Linked DNA regions of Homo sapiens: all the other regions are linked to region 1. Evidence: promoter capture Hi-C in 16 types of primary human blood cells and fetal thymus (Javierre and others, 2016). All regions are on one chromosome and are shown on one strand. The core of a region is centred on a gene start or on the middle of the fragment in contact, and the rest is flanking DNA. Distances in the headings are between cores, read along the strand shown.

Region 1 (4,072 bases), core at 780-3,279:
GGCTGGACAATCCACTCAGCAGGAATGTTTTAGGATAAACTGAATGTCAGATGGGAAGTAGGACTAGAAGCCTCTTAGATTCTTCCAGCACAACGTCTCTAAGGCTCTAAAATATCTGTCTTGCTCCAAATCACTGCAGCACCTGCTCCTATTGACACTGCCAAGGGGAGAAAGAAGAAAAAGATGTATTCTTGTAAGCCTGTCATCAGAGTACATGTCCTGTGGAAACAAGGCTGTAGAGAGTAAGCACAGTTTATGGAATCAGACACAAAATTAAATATAACTTTTATGAATTTAAATGTCAGTCAATATTGTCACTATGGTAGAAAATACGTTCTACATTCCAAATTAACTCAAAACAAATTTGTTTTTATGAGAGAGCCCACTTGTATTACCTTCCGTGCTGTATTATTATTTCATGTATGCTTGGTTTTGCTTCCCTGAAATCTAAACTCATGTAAACTGAGACTATTGTTTAGGGGTTTTTTTGTTTTTGTTTTTTTTTTGAGATGGAGTTTTGCTCTTGTTGCCCAGGCGGAGTGCAAAGGTGCGATCTCAGCTCACTGCAACCTCCACCTCCTGGGTTCAAGTGATTCTCCTGCCTCAGCCTCCCTAGTAGCTGGGATTACAGGCGCCCGCCACCACGCCCAGTATTTTGCGTATTTTTCGTAGAGACGGGGTTTCACCATGCTGGCCAGGCTGGTCTCGAACCCCTAACCTTCGGTGATCCGCCCGTCTCGGCTTCCCAAAGTGCTGGGATTACAGGCGTGAGCCACCGCGCCCAACACTGTTTACGTTTTTGCATGCTCCCGCAGATCTTTATCATGCTGCTTGAGTAACAATTCTGCTACACTAACAGATAAACTAACTGCAGACAGAGCATTTAGTGAGTTACGGCACAGACTCTTCAATTTTCAGTCGTGCTCTGACTGGCTCCCTGTGTAAACTCAGGCCAGTCATTTAACCTCTCTAAGCCTGTTTTCCTATCTGCAATATGGTGAAAGTGAGGATTATAGAAAATATTCCATATAAAAGTACGTGGCACGCAGCAGATGCTCAGTAAATGCTTAGTATAACGCTCAGCACCTAAGTGCCATGTGAGTATTAAATAAACAAATCTGTTCCTTACTACAATTATCTTAGGCAAAAAAAAACCTGCCAGATATTAGTATTCAGTTGACTTAAGTAAGTAGTATAACTCCTCTTTTAACTGTCAGAATATTAAAACTACTAGTGTGATGTGCAAATTATATACCCGAAACTAGATACAGAAATTGGAATTTGGCTTTGGGACAGAAATCTGCTTCTTCCAGAACTCTCCAAAGGAATTCAACAGTCAAAAGAGACCGGTTTTTATTCTGCAGCAAAACAATGATATTCTGAACCTACGTCAACTAACTGAACATGTCACACAGCCCATTTCCCCCTCCAGTTTCGCTTATCTCCTTTGCTCTCTGAAGGCAAGGAACAGCTATGCTTTCCCCTGCCTACAGCCTGAAACTTCTTACTAGGCCCCGCTCCTCGCCCCATGGGAGCACAGTAAATCCTGACTGCACGGGGTAAGAGAAGCAATAAGATGAGACAGGCTAGAGATTTCCCTGGGAAGGTATTCGGGGGGGTCTAAGGCATTCACGGCGCACCTGAGGCGGTCCACCCAGAGGCCCCACAAGGCACCGCCCTATTCAACTTAAGTGACAGCCGCGCCGCCACCTCATCGCCGCCCAGTTCACGCTCTCGCCGAACACTCAGCCACGCTTGCGCGGCCCAAAATGAACAGCCCCGGCCCCGATCCTTTCTTTCTCTAAGTACCATTTCAATCGCCTTTAGGATCCCTTGTGCAAAACCGACAGAAATCCAAACCCACCTGGAGCAGATGCTCCTCTTCTACAAACGCCGAGGCTGCAATGAGAGCGCATGCGCCTTTCCCAGGACTCATTCACGTGACTGGAAGTGGCTGGGTTCTGATTTGCTCGGTATTTGATTAAAAGGTCTTAACGTGGGTAAAAGCGGGAATTTCTCTGTTGCGCATGTGCGCGCTCTCCGCCTGATAGGAGTTGTAGTTCTGCGGGTGAAGCTCGGCGTTACTATCAAGCAACCAAACTGCAAGCTTTGGGAGTTGTTCGCTGTCCCTGCCCTGCTCTGCTAGGGAGAGAACGCCAGAGGGAGGCGGCTGGCCCGGCGGCAGGCTCTCAGAACCGCTACCGGCGATGCTACTGCTGTGGGTGTCGGTGGTCGCAGCCTTGGCGCTGGCGGTACTGGCCCCCGGAGCAGGGGAGCAGAGGCGGAGAGCAGCCAAAGCGCCCAATGTGGTGCTGGTCGTGAGCGACTCCTTCGTAAGTACCGCGAGGCAGGGGAGGGGCGCCCCGCTGGGGATCGGCGACCTCACCGCCGCCGCCTGTGCTGCAGGCTTTGGGGAGCAGAACCTGAGACATTTTCAAACACCTTTTACCCCGATGCAAAGAAAGAAATACATTTTATGTGAGGCCCCGTGTACTCACACGTACACCACATACCTATGCAAACATGTAAAACAATAGTGAAACACTGAAAACATCTTTGCAGATCTTTTTTTTTTAATACTGACCTCGATTCGCTAAATTATTTTACCACGACTAATGAACTTTCAGTCCATACCCCCGTTTGGTTTAATTGTGTGGTAAAATAACATTCTGCATCTCCATAAAAGCGTGTTAGCTTTCCAAAAGTCATTTTCCAGTTCACCTCAAGTTTGCAGGAATTCATGTTTGGGTGAGAAGTGAAGAAAGTTTATTTTTATTACCCAGGTCTGTGATAATCCTGTTAGTGCTGATTCAAATGGAATCGTTGGTATAACTTGATTCACTCCCCCGTATTCCAGAGAAATTGTGTGTATGTGTGTGTGTTGGTAATGTGGCTGAATCCCAAACTTAAACAGTTTTTGAAACTTTCCCAAGCCAAAGGTGCTACTGTCAACCTTACGCGATGCTTTTAGGATGATCCATGTTTTAAAAAGTGCTGCTTAGACAATTGTTTGGTTATTAATTGTAATATTAGTTTATTATCACTCGGTGTTACTGTGGTCACACAGATGTTGGTGTTAAGCATATCTGGCACTAAAGAGTGTTTGTAATCATATGTTGTATTTCCTTTCTCGTAGATTCCTGATGATTAAAATTACATAGTCTGGATGTGCCCATGGGATTTTTTGAAAATATTACTTAAAGTTATCTTTGTGATTTAAACTTAGAGAATGGGCAGTACTGGAAATTGACTAGATGGCATTTTATTACAGAGTGCTCTTGTAATCAAAGGCAAATGAAGGAAGCAGGATTGTGCAGAGGAGAAGCTGAATTTTGTTGCCATCTTATGAATGACAGTTCTCAAACTAGTATGGTGCTTCAGAGCTGCTTTCCAATAGGAGTGAGGAGAACAGACCTTTCCACCTGCATGTTGGATGGCCACTGGTTGTGGGCTGCTCCTAGAATGGGGCATGGTGTTGGGCAAAGCAGCTGTCTTCAGCAGAGGCAATTGTTCATTCCTAAAAGGGAATCCGAATGTGGATCACAACATCCCAGAAACTTCCAAAGATGACTGAGATATATAGGTTTGTTATTTTTTTTAGTGTAGTATGAATGCATAGATTTTTCTATATTTGTGCTTAAATTTTTTGCATTCACGGCCGGGCGCGGTGGCTCACGCCTGTAATCCCAGCACTTTGGGAGGCCGAGGTGGGCGGATCACGAGGTCAAGAGATCAAGACCATCCTGGCTAACACAGTGAAACCCCGTCTCTACTAAAAATACAAAAAAATTAGCCGGGCGTGGTTTCGGGCGCCTGTAGTCCCAGCTACTCGGGAGGCTGAAGCAGGAGAATGGCGTGAACCTGGGAGGCGGAGCTTGCAGTGACCTGATATCGCACCACTGCACTCCAGCCTGGGCGACGGAGCGAGAGTCCGTCTCGAAAAAAAAATAAAAATAAAAATAAAAAAATTTTTAAAAAATAAAAAATAAAAAAAATTTTTGCATTCACATACTTGTTAATATTCAAACTGTCCTATCTTTGGCCAGTGGAAGCCCCTTCAGGTGGTTCTGAG
Region 2 (4,072 bases), core at 650-3,149, 880 kb after region 1:
AGACACTTTTCACATGATGGAAATAGACATGCTTGCAGCAGGTTGCTGAAGTAAATACAGCATCAAGGTGGTGGACACGACTTGGTTGAGTTCCAAGAGCTCAGCAACAAGCTACTCACCTGGCCTTCCCAAGTGATTAGAAGACCAAATATCTTGAGGGACATCTTTAATTCTACTGGTTGGGATGCTCTGACCTATAGAAATGGAAGTAAAAGAGTAAAAAAGCAAAGTCTATACACTGCAAAGGCTTTGAGGTGGATGAATAATTATGAAGGATTTTTGCTGAATGAACTAGATAAACACAAAATCTTGAATTTAATGTAGAATTGAATTGAATTATTAAAATGGAAGCAGTGAGTGCCATAAATTCCACTTGCTAGAAATAATTGATCTTTTCTAATGAAAATGGATAATTAAATGTGGCCATATACAAGTATTTAGGTTCTTTCTTTAACAGGTTCTTTTAAAATATGCATTTACTGAGTGAGTTGCAGAGCATCCCTGCTTCTGCTTGCAGGCAATGCTCTTGCTTCCTCTGTGCTCTCAAACATTGCCATTTTCGTATTAAACTCTCAGTGCATAACTGCTGTCTCTGCTCCTGAAGTATGTCTTTCTATGAGAATTATAGACTTTAGTATTGAAAAGTGACCTTGAATATTATACAGCTCCTTGCTTCTCAAAGTCTTGTCCACATACCAGCATTATAGGCATCACTTGGAAGCTTGTTAGAAATGCAGACCCTCAGCCCCCACCCCAGAACTACTGAATCAGAATCTGCATTGTTAATGAGTCCGTAGTGATTCATACGCAATTAAAGTTTGAGACGCACTGATCTACTTAACATGCCTGGTATACATGACACTCCTCTGTGATATTTTTTAACAAGTTGTTAGGCAATTCCTGGTCTCCCAAAGCAACCCATTCTTTGGTTTGGATTGGCTGAAATGGTTACAAAGTCCTTCCTTATAATGATATTATAAAACCTTTCCTCATTACTACCTCCAGTCAAGCATGCTAATTTTGCCCTCTAGTACCACACTGACAAGTCTCAATCTCTTTTATACATGATAGCAATTCATACTTCGAAGGCAGATTGTTATATCTTGCCTAACTTTTTTCTGCTCTAGGTTAAACATCCCCAACCTTTTTAACACTTTGGCATTCTGCTTGCTCTTGTCCGGATAGGGTCTTTCAATAGAATTTTTTAAATGTGGCACCCAGAATAGAATATAGTATAGTTGGCCAACTAAAAAAAGATAATTTATTTTTCCAACTTTTTATTTTGAAATAACTTTATAGTTACAGAAAATTAAGAAAAAACAGTACACAAAACTTGTGTATACCGTTCATGCAGCTTTCCCTGGGGTTTACATCTGGTGTAACCATATTACTATTAGCTAAACCAAAACATTAACATTGATACAATATTCTTAACTCATTTATAGACCTTTATATTTTTCCAACTGTTCTATTAGTATATCTTCTTTTATGGTCCAGTATTCAATTAAGACTCCCTATTGCATTTGGTTATTATGTCTCCTCCAAACTGGGATATTTTATCTTTGTCTCTCACAACCTTAAAACTTTTGAGGAGTACTATTCAGTTATTTTATATTATGGTCCTTAATTTTGGTTTGTCTGGTGTTTTCTAATGATTAGGCTGGGATTAAACATTTGTAGGAATAAGTGATGTTATGTCATTTTCATTGACTTGTATCAGGAGGTACATGGTGTCCATATGTCTAATTACTAGTGATGTTATCTCTGATCACTTGGTTAAGATGGTATCATATCAACCAGATTTCTCCACTGTAAAGTTACTATTTGAAAAATAATATTTCGGTGTAAAAATTATTGACAAACTCATGATGCAGAGAGCCATAATGTAGTAATACTCTCCAAATTTATATTTTTGGAGAAAATGAAAATAATTTTACTTTCATAGACATTTATGTTTGTGATATTCATAACTTCTCATTCCACATGTCAGGAGATTTTTCTGTGAGATTAAGTGAAATAATCCATTTAAGATACTTAGCAGAAGGGTGAGGACAGAGAAATCGCTTAGTTTGCTACTATTATTAATGCTATTAACCTATCACTTTCCACTTAATATACTGATATATTTCCATGTCAATAACTGTTCACTGGCATAATTTATAATGGTTGCATAGCTTTCCATTAAATGTGTTAAGTATACTTCAACTTATCAAGTAACGGAAGACACTTAGAGTGTATCTATTTGTTTGGCTACTATACTTTCAGGTAAAGTTGGTTGATTAAATATATGTGTCTCCTTTCATGCCCCACTAAAACCCCTCAAAAACTACAAAGAAGGGATTTTTTTAAGGACATAAACTTATGAAATGGGGAGAACAGGAGTAGAAGCAATCACAAAAAATTATGAAAGCAAAAAAGCAACTAATTTAGCAGACCCAAGAAAATGAAATGTTAATCCAGCAGCAGGGAAAGCCAAGAACTAACCCTTTCTATGCCTCAGAATTCCCCATGACTGAGGAATTGGCAGGCACCAAATAACTTGACATTAGGATGCAAATAGGTTGGAAAATAAAAAAAGATTGCTTTAAAGTCTGTTTCAAAAGCAATCTTCCCCAGCTTCCCTCATCACTCTTTATTGCAGAAAACTATCCCTTTGTCACCCAGCAAAGAGACTGAGGGTGTTTTCCCCAGAGACATCAGGCACAGTTAAAGGTGGAGGCTTCACACCCCCGAACCAACTGTAAGAAATTGGTCACCTCGGGGTTGCTTTCTAGCAGGTGCCACTGAGGGATAAATAATAATGGACTGATCCTAACTTCCCCTTTGTTTCTCACCTCCCTCCAGTGAACACAGGGATTAATCTGCTTGTTGTTTAAAATAATATAATCCTTGAAGCTGTTGTAAACAAGTAGAGGAAAGAAGACCTTCAACAATTGTCCCTAATTATGGTTAGAAGAGGGACCAATCCTGATCCCAGTTATGACAGGCAAAAAAATTGTACAATCAGTAAAACTGAAAGAGAAAACAAAGGTACTAAAGCAGAAGTGGCCCACGGCACATTACTTTAAAAGTTCTAAGTAAGCTTCTGATACTGAAACTCAGGAAATAGCTAACAAAAATCTGGTTTTCTGGCTTCTCTTTATAAACTAGAAAATGTTAGTCTGGAAACAGTGACCCCTACAGTTCTCAGACACTGAGACAAAGTATGAATTTCTGCAATTATGTTTATCCCACCTTTTTTTTTTTTTTTCTTATAATGGAGTTCAGAAATCCTTAACTCTATAAGGGGAAAATAGCAGAGAGAATTGAGGGTTTGGAGCTTCTCTCTTATGCCTGCCTTATTCCACTCAGTTATGGTATCTGCATGTCTCCTGTGAGCATCCGTGTCTCTAGCTCTTTCCTTGGACCCTGCTGTAGACTTGTACCTCTACTGTTCAGACCTACCCACGCTGCAGCTGTAGCTGTTTACTCACAGCAAGAGAGAGAGGCTAAGACCAGCAAGCCCAGTGGGTGCCCCAACTCAAGCAAACATGTATTGGCCAGGTCTGAGTTGTTACATGCCAAGGAGAGGAGCAGGTAGCAAAAGTTTTTTCTAAGCCCATGGACTTGGGAAAGTGATGGACTTGTGGGTGGGGGAGGTGGGTAGGATAAATGGCAGCAGGGTGAGGGGGTCCGTTTAAGGCTACTCAAGTTCTTCTGACTCTCCAGTCAGAATTACTCAATCATTTAGGGTAGGGCCATACATACACATGGGGGAAATGTCAGGGTTTGGCGTTAAGAAAGCTAGGAAAGAAATAGGTATGGGAAAGTATTTCATGGGTGCAATGGTTGATGATCCAGCATCTACTTTCCTAGTGCTCTACAGCTGGAAAAGGCAGAGGCAATGGCTTTAATTTTATTTGCAAAGCTAGTTAAGAGTCGATGGAAGAACTGACACTATTTGATAAACTGTGCCCAAACTCTAGATGAACACTATTTCAAAGAGCATTAAGCACAGATATAAGAGCAGACTCAAAACAGACCACCTGGATTTGATTCTCAGCTCTGCCACTTATTAGCTGGGAACATCCAG
Region 3 (4,072 bases), core at 609-3,108, 780 kb after region 1:
TCAGAAGATGCATTGTCTCCTTTTGTTCAAGGCCGACCCCAGTTACACATGCCAAGACCAGGTTCCACAGCCATCCTCCCTCTTGAAACATCCACCTTTCCTCTTGCAGGGGTATGTCCTCTTCAGACTACAAGCTTACTCATCTCCTTCCCATTCATTAAAAAAGAAGTCTACCTTTGACCCCCATGTCCTCTTAGTGATGTCCTATCTCTTCTTCTATTTCATCCAAACATCTTTAAAGAGTTACCTATACTCAGTGTGACCACTTCATGTGCCATTCACTCTGCATCCCCTGCAATCTGGCTTCTGCTTTTGGTAAGGCCACCCATATTGTAGCTGGAAAATTCAGTGGACATTTTCCAATCTTTGTCTCACTGTATGTTTCTGGGGCATTTGGCCATGTTGCTTGTGTGCACCACTCACTCTCTATGATAGTCATATTATATTCTCTCAGCTTGCCTCATTTGTTTCTGTTCTTTCCCAACCATGGTCTCCTCTCCCTCCATCTACCACCCACATGCTGGGGTTACCTACCTTTCTGTTTTAGCCTACCGCTCTTCTCATTACTGATACTCTTCTTGGGTGGATTTTTCTACACTCAGGATTTCAGCTACCATCTGTATAGTAATGACTGTCTAGTTCAATCTCCATCTCCAATTTCTCCCCCAAGCTTTAGGCTCACCAATTCCATCACCTGCTAGGCAGCTTTTCTTGGGCACTCTTCAGACATTTCGGATTCAATTGCTCAAAAGCTACATGTATCACTTCCCTCCAACCTAAACCTCTATTTGTTCTGTTACCTTCTCTTTACCCAGTGACAAAAGTTATAAAATGTCTGCCTTGACTTTTTTCTTCTCCTCACTCCCTTTATCCAACTGATCATTACATCCTGATGTTTTCCCCTCCTATGCATTTCTCAAACCCATCCTCTCAACTCCACTCCTACCACCACTACCCTATCTCAAATGCACCTTCTTTTAACTGGACCAATATAACAGTCTCTCAATTGGCTTCCTGGTTTCTAGACCTGGCCCACTCCATTCTCTCTCCAGAGCTACCTGAATGATTCATATACAAAACAGTAATCTGACCCAGTCCTTCTCTTGCTAAAGTCATTCTGAATCTACACAAGGAAATTCAACCTCCTTTCCTGGGGCTGTCCCTTGTCTATCTCTTAAACCTTAGCTCCTACCACCCGCTGCCCCCTATTTTGACTCCAACTCTCAACCGGCAGTAGTTCTCTGCAAGTCTTCTGTTCTCTTTCTGTTCTTTACTTGCACATTTACCAATAAATATGTTTTACTCCAGTGTATTAGGTTAGTATTATAAGGGAAGTTTCAAGTTCATTTCATATTAAACATTAGAGCCTTCATGCTTAGGGAGAGAGGGAAAAAGAGAAAAAACCCATAGCTAAATACATAGTTAAGTCGCGTTCTTCTCCAACGCAGCCAAAAATTGGACTGGGCCTGAGATATTTGTGTGCCCTGTTTGATTGAAAGCTGTTAGAAAGTATGCCAAACATTTTAGATTTTTCGCTCCCAGAGTTCTTGTAAACCCGGCAGAACTTGTCTGTTATGAAGAGTGGACTGCCCTCTAGAGGTTCCCATTGGAAGGAGCACATCAAACCCACAGTGTTAAGGCATTCTGCAGTTTCTTGTGAGGTTTTGCTGTAGACATTTACTATTACTGTTCTTTGTCCCCAAAATGCTTTTCCAGATGTCTAATTCTGAGTCACACATTTTTAATTTACTTTGGGAATAGAGATTTGGGGTAAAGCATGTGATGGACCTCAAAACACTCAATTTGGAGTCAGGAGATGTGACTTTTAGTCCCGGTTCTTCCTTTAATATCTGAGGACTTAGATTTCATGTCTGTTAATCAAGTAGTAGAAGATCACACTTCAAAACTGTGAATCACCAGAAAGTATGTTTTAGGAGTAAAACTGGGAAGAGTTTCATTAATTCAGTAAATATTTAATATGGAAGACCCTGGGGTAAGAGCTGTTTTGCAGAAGCTAGGAGTTTACGTTTGATCTTTACAATGTTAGATGAAACATATTTGAAAAAAAGACACTTGGAAAACATTTGGGCTTGCAATTTAAATGGATGAATTTAACCCTGATATCATAGAACCCTGAAAGCGAAACTGAGCTAAAACAAAGTAAAACTTACTCTGATTCCAAGGGTCTCTTCTGACATGAGAGTGGAAATGAATCACACAACCACACACACACACCCATAGACACCCTAATATGCCATTAAGCTCTGACCCAAACCCCTTTTAGCCTGGTTTCCCCTTTTCTATTTTCAATCAAGAGAGAAAAAAAAGGAAGTCTTTCATTTAATGGTAAGAACCAACTATGGTCTCTGTATGCTCATATAATACTAAAGAATTATAGGTAAAATTATATTTTATGTACTTTATTATGGTACTATGTCAATTGACATTGAACTTCATAGTACACTGAAGAAAGGGAAAAAATATTAGGACACCATTTATGTCCGTAGTAACACTGGAAGTAAGATGCCGCAAAGCTCAGGACACAGTAGCTAGGAAACAAGACGTCTGAATTCCTGTGATTCCACACATGTTTGGAGGGATCTGGGGACACCAGCTGGATCTTCTGTAATGCAGGTAGCCACATCTGTGCACCATGGTTATGATGCTCACTTCTGTGGAGTTCAATGTTAATGTCCTCTTTGGCATCTACCTCCTCCAAGTTCAAAGCTGGACTGCTGTGCTGGGAATCCAGCAACCTGAACCTTTTTCTTCATTACAAATCTGGACATCTTTGGACTTGATTTCTGACATCAAATCAATGGTTTTACTTCTCTCTTCATTAGTTTACTGTCTGTCTTTACAAAGTCCTCTGGGCATTAGCAAAGACATGAACCTAACAGAATACCTCTAACATTTTGAACACATATAAAACATTAGTACTTGAAATTTTTCCTTATGTTTCTATAGCTAAGGAAAACTTTTAATTTTTTTTTTCTGTCTTAGCCTACTCTATCCAGCATTCCTTGCTGGAGGCACAGCTAGGATGAAAGCTTTGGAATGAGAAATGAAAGGAGTAAATAGACTTGACTTTACTAACAGTGTCCATGTTTTTATTCCTGAAAGTTATGACACAACAATTGTTAGACCATAATCATTAAGAAGTTCTGTCATCATCTTCTGTTAGGTTGAAACGTTCAACAAACAAAACAACAAACCTATTTTTATTCTGCTTTCATATTTCAAATGCATTTATGCACTTCAAATTTCAGTTTCAAATATTCTTGAGAGTTTCAAAAACTCTGCATCGTTTTTTGACTTATGACTTAATGCTATATGCTGCCTTATGCTGTTTTACTTCTGCTTTCTTCATACTTTGCTTCATTTATTATCCTATTCTTTCCTTCCTTCTTCCTTTGTAATCCTTGTTTATGGTATTATTAGAACTTGTAAATTTCTGTAGGTAGTGGTTACAATATAGGTAACTCACAAGGCCTAAACAGGTATATTTAGATAATAGAAAGTATTGAACTCTGAGTCTGGAGTGGGAAAAGTTGATCACATCACTTCTCCCCCCAAACAACTTTGCTCTGAGATTTAGTCTAAAGAGATTCACTTTTCAATAAGTAGAAATGTGATTTGGTGGATAGCTTGCTGCTCATTCCAAAGTATATTATATTTCTCTTTCTGGAAGCGAACCCCTGGGAAGAGGGTGCTTGGTGAGCTCTGGATGCCGTGCCCAGAGGCCAGGGGTTTTTGGAAATGCCGCAGAACATCCTGTTCCTGGGAGCCCTTCTGCCTGGTTGTTTGTGCTCTAGAGACTTGGCTCCTGGTGTTCTTGCTCAGACCTTTGGACTTTGGCAAGGCTACTTCTCATGTTTCTGTCTTCCTCTGTGTGCCATTCTGGCTCTGTAGATGGTTTGGTTTTTTGTGTTGTGACAGTGGAGGCTGCTTGGAGTGCACTGCCAGGCATTGGCTCATGGGCACTCTGCTCCATTTCAGTAACAGCAACAGAACTTGGATTTGACTGGGAAATAATAACCATTACTGGAAGAAAAAAGTAGCAAAACATATT

What was found. Contacts are between HindIII fragments. The CHiCAGO score rates a contact against its expected background, and 5 or more counts as called.
Region 2: a fragment that was not itself captured here is called in contact with the fragment with the promoter of ARSK in region 1 in 2 of 17 cell types (total B cells and naive B cells); the score reaches 6.1 in total B cells.
Region 3: a contact is called between a fragment that was not itself captured here and the fragment with the promoter of ARSK in region 1, in 1 of 17 cell types (naive CD4 T cells). The highest score is 5.2, in naive CD4 T cells.

The regions. Positions count from the first base shown.
Region 1 is chr5:95,553,072-95,557,143 of GRCh38, forward strand. It overlaps ARSK (arylsulfatase family member K), which reads left to right and starts at 2,030. Exons shown (of 8, transcript NM_198150.3): 1 at 2,030-2,333. The coding sequence starts at 2,208. SKIC3 (SKI3 subunit of superkiller complex) reads right to left here and starts at 1,906. Exons shown (of 43, transcript NM_014639.4): 1 at 1,865-1,906. The HindIII fragment of the contact is 6,579 bases long and covers 1-2,105 here.
Region 2 is chr5:96,436,940-96,441,011 of GRCh38, forward strand. The region is part of intron 4 of LOC101929710 (a long non-coding RNA gene); the gene reads left to right. It also overlaps a transcript of CAST not described here and the pseudogene LOC102724070. Among named protein-coding and RNA genes, the nearest start is that of PCSK1, 5.7 kb to the left of the region's middle. The HindIII fragment of the contact is 2,361 bases long and covers 720-3,080 here.
Region 3 is chr5:96,334,989-96,339,060 of GRCh38, forward strand. All of the region lies in intron 3 of LOC101929710 (a long non-coding RNA gene), which reads left to right. The region is part of intron 1 of LOC107986365 (a long non-coding RNA gene); the gene reads left to right. It also overlaps a transcript of CAST not described here. Among named protein-coding and RNA genes, the nearest start is that of PCSK1, 96 kb to the right of the region's middle. The HindIII fragment of the contact is 2,380 bases long and covers 669-3,048 here.